Regions from separate parts of the Homo sapiens genome. Here region 2 is linked to region 1. Evidence: promoter capture Hi-C in human tissues and cell types (Jung and others, 2019). All regions are on one chromosome and are shown on one strand. The core of a region is centred on a gene start or on the middle of the fragment in contact, and the rest is flanking DNA. Distances in the headings are between cores, read along the strand shown.

The links. Contacts are between HindIII fragments. The study calls those that stand out against the background at their distance.
Region 2: a contact is called between a fragment that was not itself captured here and the fragment with the promoter of FXN in region 1, in 1 of the 25 tissues and cell types used here (dorsolateral prefrontal cortex).

The regions. Positions count from the first base shown.
Region 1 is chr9:69,034,170-69,037,867 of GRCh38, forward strand. It overlaps FXN (frataxin), which reads left to right and starts at 1,583. Exons shown (of 5, transcript NM_000144.5): 1 at 1,583-1,778. The coding sequence starts at 1,614. RefSeq lists silencers at 1,472-1,941, 2,524-2,818 and an enhancer at 2,102-2,151. The HindIII fragment of the contact is 19,714 bases long and covers 1-3,698 here.
Region 2 is chr9:69,926,841-69,930,538 of GRCh38, forward strand. No RefSeq gene overlaps it. Among named protein-coding and RNA genes, the nearest start is that of CFAP95, 110 kb to the left of the region's middle. The HindIII fragment of the contact is 3,339 bases long and covers 1-3,244 here.

The DNA of each region.
Region 1 (3,698 bases), core at 333-2,832:
CATCCCTAGCTCTATATAAATCTCCCACTCAACACTCACACCTGTTAGTTTACATTCCTCTTGACACTTGTCATTTAGCATCCTAAGTATGTAAACATGTCTCTCTTCACGATTCACAAAGTGGCTTTGGAAGAACTTTAGTACCTTCCCATCTTCTCTGCCATGGAAAGTGTACACAACTGACATTTTCTTTTTTTTTAAGACAGTATCTTGCTATGATGGCCGGGCTGGAATGCTGTGGCTATTCACAGGCACAATCATAGCTCACTGCAGCCTTGAGCTCCCAGGCTCAAGTGATCCTCCCGCCTCAGCCTCCTGAGTAGCTGAGATCACAGGCATGCACTACCACACTCGGCTCACATTTGACATCCTCTAAAGCATATATAAAATGTGAAGAAAACTTTCACAATTTGCATCCCTTTGTAATATGTAACAGAAATAAAATTCTCTTTTAAAATCTATCAACAATAGGCAAGGCACGGTGGCTCACGCCTGTCGTCTCAGCACTTTGTGAGGCCCAGGCGGGCAGATCGTTTGAGCCTAGAAGTTCAAGACCACCCTGGGCAACATAGCGAAACCCCCTTTCTACAAAAAATACAAAAACTAGCTGGGTGTGGTGGTGCACACCTGTAGTCCCAGCTACTTGGAAGGCTGAAATGGGAAGACTGCTTGAGCCCGGGAGGGAGAAGTTGCAGTAAGCCAGGACCACACCACTGCACTCCAGCCTGGGCAACAGAGTGAGACTCTGTCTCAAACAAACAAATAAATGAGGCGGGTGGATCACGAGGTCAGTAGATCGAGACCATCCTGGCTAACACGGTGAAACCCGTCTCTACTAAAAAAAAAAAAAAATACAAAAAATTAGCCAGGCATGGTGGCGGGCGCCTGTAGTCCCAGTTACTCGGGAGGCTGAGGCAGGAGAATGGCGTGAAACCGGGAGGCAGAGCTTGCAGTGAGCCGAGATCGCACCACTGCCCTCCAGCCTGGGCGACAGAGCGAGACTCCGTCTCAATCAATCAATCAATCAATAAAATCTATTAACAATATTTATTGTGCACTTAACAGGAACATGCCCTGTCCAAAAAAAACTTTACAGGGCTTAACTCATTTTATCCTTACCACAATCCTATGAAGTAGGAACTTTTATAAAACGCATTTTATAAACAAGGCACAGAGAGGTTAATTAACTTGCCCTCTGGTCACACAGCTAGGAAGTGGGCAGAGTACAGATTTACACAAGGCATCCGTCTCCTGGCCCCACATACCCAACTGCTGTAAACCCATACCGGCGGCCAAGCAGCCTCAATTTGTGCATGCACCCACTTCCCAGCAAGACAGCAGCTCCCAAGTTCCTCCTGTTTAGAATTTTAGAAGCGGCGGGCCACCAGGCTGCAGTCTCCCTTGGGTCAGGGGTCCTGGTTGCACTCCGTGCTTTGCACAAAGCAGGCTCTCCATTTTTGTTAAATGCACGAATAGTGCTAAGCTGGGAAGTTCTTCCTGAGGTCTAACCTCTAGCTGCTCCCCCACAGAAGAGTGCCTGCGGCCAGTGGCCACCAGGGGTCGCCGCAGCACCCAGCGCTGGAGGGCGGAGCGGGCGGCAGACCCGGAGCAGCATGTGGACTCTCGGGCGCCGCGCAGTAGCCGGCCTCCTGGCGTCACCCAGCCCAGCCCAGGCCCAGACCCTCACCCGGGTCCCGCGGCCGGCAGAGTTGGCCCCACTCTGCGGCCGCCGTGGCCTGCGCACCGACATCGATGCGACCTGCACGCCCCGCCGCGCAGTAAGTATCCGCGCCGGGAACAGCCGCGGGCCGCACGCCGCGGGCCGCACGCCGCACGCCTGCGCAGGGAGGCGCCGCGCACGCCGGGGTCGCTCCGGGTACGCGCGCTGGACTAGCTCACCCCGCTCCTTCTCAGGGCGGCCCGGCGGAAGCGGCCTTGCAACTCCCTTCTCTGGTTCTCCCGGTTGCATTTACACTGGCTTCTGCTTTCCGAAGGAAAAGGGGACATTTTGTCCTGCGGTGCGACTGCGGGTCAAGGCACGGGCGAAGGCAGGGCAGGCTGGTGGAGGGGACCGGTTCCGAGGGGTGTGCGGCTGTCTCCATGCTTGTCACTTCTCTGCGATAACTTGTTTCAGTAATATTAATAGATGGTATCTGCTAGTATATACATACACATAATGTGTGTGTCTGTGTGTATCTGTATATAGCGTGTGTGTTGTGTGTGTGTGTTTGCGCGCACGGGCGCGCGCACACCTAATATTTTCAAGGCTGGATTTTTTTGAACGAAATGCTTTCCTGGAACGAGGTGAAACTTTCAGAGCTGCAGAATAGCTAGAGCAGCAGGGGCCCTGGCTTTTGGAAACTGACCCGACCTTTATTCCAGATTCTGCCCCACTCCGCAGAGCTGTGTGACCTTGGGGGATTCCCCTAACCTCTCTGAGACGTGGCTTTGTTTTCTGTAGGGAGAAGATAAAGGTGACGCCCATTTTGCGGACCTGGTGTGAGGATTAAATGGGAATAACATAGATAAAGTCTTCAGAACTTCAAATTAGTTCCCCTTTCTTCCTTTGGGGGGTACAAAGAAATATCTGACCCAGTTACGCCACGGCTTGAAAGGAGGAAACCCAAAGAATGGCTGTGGGGATGAGGAAGATTCCTCAAGGGGAGGACATGGTATTTAATGAGGGTCTTGAAGATGCCAAGGAAGTGGTAGAGGGTGTTTCACGAGGAGGGAACCGTCTGGGCAAAGGCCAGGAAGGCGGAAGGGGATCCCTTCAGAGTGGCTGGTACGCCGCATGTATTAGGGGAGATGAAAGAGGCAGGCCACGTCCAAGCCATATTTGTGTTGCTCTCCGGAGTTTGTACTTTAGGCTTGAACTTCCCACACGTGTTATTTGGCCCACATTGTGTTTGAAGAAACTTTGGGATTGGTTGCCAGTGCTTAAAAGTTAGGACTTAGAAAATGGATTTCCTGGCAGGACGCGGTGGCTCATGCCCATAATCTCAGCACTTTGGGAGGCCTAGGAAGGTGGATCACCTGAGGTCCGGAGTTCAAGACTAACCTGGCCAACATGGTGAAACCCAGTATCTACTAAAAAATACAAAAAAAAAAAAAAAAGAAGAAGAAGAAGAAGAAAATAAAGAAAAGTTAGCCGGGCGTGGTGTCGCGCGCCTGTAATCCCAGCTACTCCAGAGGCTGCGGCAGGAGAATCGCTTGAGCCCGGGAGGCAGAGGTTGCATTAAGCCAAGATCGCCCAATGCACTCCGGCCTGGGCGACAGAGCAAGACTCCGTCTCAAAAAATAATAATAATAAATAAAAATAAAAAATAAAATGGATTTCCCAGCATCTCTGGAAAAATAGGCAAGTGTGGCCATGATGGTCCTTAGATCTCCTCTAGGAAAGCAGACATTTATTACTTGGCTTCTGTGCACTATCTGAGCTGCCACGTATTGGGCTTCCACCCCTGCCTGTGTGGACAGCATGGGTTGTCAGCAGAGTTGTGTTTTGTTTTGTTTTTTTGAGACAGAGTTTCCCTCTTGTTGCCCAGGCTGGAGTGCAGTGGCTCAGTCTCAGCTCACTGCAACCTCTGCCTCCTGGGTTCAAGTGATTCTCCTGCCTCAGCCTCCCGAGTAGCTGGGATTATCGGCTAATTTTGTATTTTTAGTAGAGACAGATTTCTCCATGTTGGTCAGGCTGG
Region 2 (3,698 bases), core at 325-2,824, 890 kb after region 1:
TGGCCTTCGGGGGCTGACCCGCAGGGTGTTGGATTTCAGGATAGAGCAGAAAGAGAGCTTGGCATTATTTATTGTCCCAAGCTGTAGAATCCTGGAAGAGAGCTATCATGCAGCCCATGCCTGGTTGACTAGCGGACCATCCAAGTGGAAAGAGGACAATCTGGGCCTCTGGCTGGCCGTGCACACAAGCATAACAATTGCTTTTGTTTAACATGTGGACAGAATATTTGATCCATTCCAACCAGGAATTTGCATCTTGATATCCTGTTTCAATTGCTAAAGTTTGCCTTAAATCATTTACTTCTACAATATCTACCTTAGTCTTATCATTGGGTATAGAGGGGATAGCAGTTTGATTAGAAGAAGGCTTAGAAGGAGAAGAGAGGAAAGGGGGTGAAGAGGATGAGGGATTAATAAAATGCATTTCAAAAGTCCCTATGAGGTCTGTGCCAGCCAAGTTGGCTCCCATGCTGTAGAAGCGGCTCAAAGTAGGTCTAGGGTCGGTAGAGGTGGAAGTGAGAATTGAAATTTGCACTGGATTACATTGGTTATACTGGCAATTGGGGTTGGAGGTGCTTTCTTTAGTAAAGTGAATGTATGGTTTTAAGGATACACAACCACCTGTCAATGAGGTCTAGCCTTGATATTTGGTTGTCCACAGAACATCATTCCTGCTATGGCAGACCTGTTTCTCTATATTTGTTAAAGAGCAAGAGTCTTGGTAGGGGGAACCTCTATTTTAAAGGGGCAGAGATACTTTTCTAAGGCTAAGAGTTTCCTTTGACTTTGAAGATCTCTACAGGGTATGACTAAACAAGCATCAAACGTAATAACTTTGGGGGAGTTTGATTTAGTTACATTGATAACAAGGTGGTCAGCAATAGAATGAGAAAAGAAGAAAGAGTAATAGAATAGATGAAAGAGAGTTAAACTTAGCTTTAGTTTGAGGGGGTTTTCCCCTGGGACAATGGCCCATGACTGCGGAGGTGGTGGTGCTTTCTTGACTCAGGTGTGATGGGTCCATCCTTTTTCTGCTATCAGGACTGTGGTTCCAGTGGTTAGAAGCACTTAGGTGAAGTCCTTCCCAGGACAGCTCAAGTTTTTCTTCTTTCTAGCTTTTGATGAGGACATGATCCCCAGGCTGATGTTGATGTACTGGGAACTCCAGGGGCGGCGCCTGTGCTAGGAGACCTTTGGTTTTTAAAAAAAGAGAAAGTAGAGGAGAGACCAAGTATATAATTCCTGAGGAATTGATCTTTTGTTTCAAATGTAGGAATGCCAGCAGTGGAGTGTAAATAAGGCAATTAGAGCATCTCATAAGGAGAAAGGCCAATATCTTTCCAAGGAGCAGCTCAGATTCTTAAAAGGCAATAAGAAGACATTTGGTCCATGGCAACTGAGTCTCTAGAACTAATTTGGTTATGTGGTTCTTTAAGGTCTAATTCATCCTTTCTATTCTTCTTGAGGAAGGTGGGTGCCAAGGAGTATGATATTCCCATCTAATGTCTAGGGCTTGGGATAGCTTTTTAATGATATGTGCTATGAAATGGGTTCCATTGTCTGAATCAATATTTTCTATTGGTCCAAACCTGGGCACTATCTTTTCAGTTAATGCTTTAACTACATTATTGGCCATTGCATTTGAAAAGGGAATAGCTTCAACTCAATGAGTAAGGTGATCTGCTGTTACTAATAAGTACTTTAGGCGACCGATTGGGGGCATTTCAGTGTAGTCAATTTGAACACTTTGGAATGGTCTTAGCCCTGGATCCCTCCCCGCAAGGGGCGATTTCTTTGTAACTTGTTTGTTGGGTTTTTTTTTTTTACATATGAAGCAACTATCTTTAATCTGTTTGGCTACAGTATAAGTTCCTGAACACCCATAAACCCTGAGAACTGCATCACACATAGCTTGGGGTCCCCAGTGGGTCCCTTGATGCAGATGGGACAGGATTTCCTTCATGACGAGTTTGGATAGTATTTCTCATTGATCTGGTAACACCCATTTTCCTTCTGAGTTTTCTTTGGCTCCTATTCTTATTAATTTTTCCTTTTCTGCAGCAGAGAAGATAGAGGTTGCAGCAGGGGGAGGAAGACAAGGAGTTAAGTGAAAGATAGGTGTTTCAGATGAAACAGCAGCCTGCTTAGCTGCTTGATTTGCAAGGTTATTTCCCCAACTTGTAAAGGAAAAGTCTTTTTAGTGTCTGGGGACATGTACAATGGCTATTTCTTCTGGCAACTGGAGATTGTTTAAAACATGGATGATTAGCTCTTCATGGGCAAGATTTTGGCCTTTAAAATTAATAAGAGGTTTCTCAGGCCAAATTTTTCCAAATGTATGTGCTACTCCAAAGGCATACTTAGAATCAGTATAAATAGTTTCTTCCTTGTTCTGTAAGTGTTTTAAAGCCTGGCTGAGGGCAAATGGTTCACAAACTTGGGCAGATCAACTATTGGGCAACCTTCCTGACTCTATTTCTTCAAGAGTTTCTCTATCAATTACTGAATACCCATTATGCCTTTCTCCTTTAATTACTTGGGAGGAACCATCTATAAATAAGCATCGCCCCATTTTGAAAGGGGTCTCTCCTAGATCTGGCCTGACCTTCATTTGGTAGTCAATTAAATCTAAACATAGGTGTTCTCTTTTTAGATTTGGGTCTCCTGTCAAGAAACCTGCTGGGTTGAGTGAATTATCAGTAGTTAAGGTTAAATTCATCTTTTTTCTAGTAGAATAGCCTCATATTTTAATTTTTCAAGATTCAATTTCAGTATTTCAAGATTCTGGAGTCAGTGAGCACCTTCCTGCTTTTTTATTTAAAGTAGCTCTAACTTGGTGGGGTGTGCTTACAGTTAATTTTCCCCCAAAGGTTAATTTTCTGGTTTCTTCAACTAATACTTCTGTAGCTGCAACAGATTGAAAACATTGAGGCCATCTACAGGTATTGGGTGTAAAACTTTTGATAGGAAGGCTATGGGCTGCCAGCGGCCACTGGGTTCTTGAGTGAGCACCCCTAAAGCTACCCTGTTATTTATGTTAACAAAAAGATGAAATGGCTTTTCTAGGGAAGGTAAGGCTAAAAAACCTGATCGGCTTCCTCAGAAGTCCACAGGAGATGGTCCAGCTTCCACTAGGTAAGCTTTTCATATAAAAGTTTACTTTTTAGGGCATATGAGTCAATCCATAAGCAGCAGTATCCAACTAATCCTAAAAATGTTCTGAGTCCTTGCTTAGTTTGAGGCAGGGATAAGGACACGATGCCTTCAACTCACTCAGGCCCTATTCTTCACTTACCTCCACTGATAAAAGTGGCCTAAATATTTAACTTCAGTCTCCACATACTGAAGCTTTCCCTTTGAGACCCATAGCCCCTCAAATTCCAGATGGTTAAGAATATGTGTAGAGAAGTCAGCTACTTTTTTTACATCTTCACCAGATATAAGAATATCACCCACATACTGGACCAGGCATATCTACTTTGGGATGACAACTTTTTCTGACACTTGTTCTAGATTTGGCCAAAAAGGTTTAGGGAGTCTGTGAACCCTTGAACTCCATTGATACTGTTGTTTTTGCCCTGAATGGGGGTCCTCCCACTCAAAAGCAAATGTGTCTCAGCTGTCTTTAGCCAAGGGGCATGCCCAGAAGGCATCCTTTAAGTCTATTACTGTAAACCACTGATGATTATATGGAATTT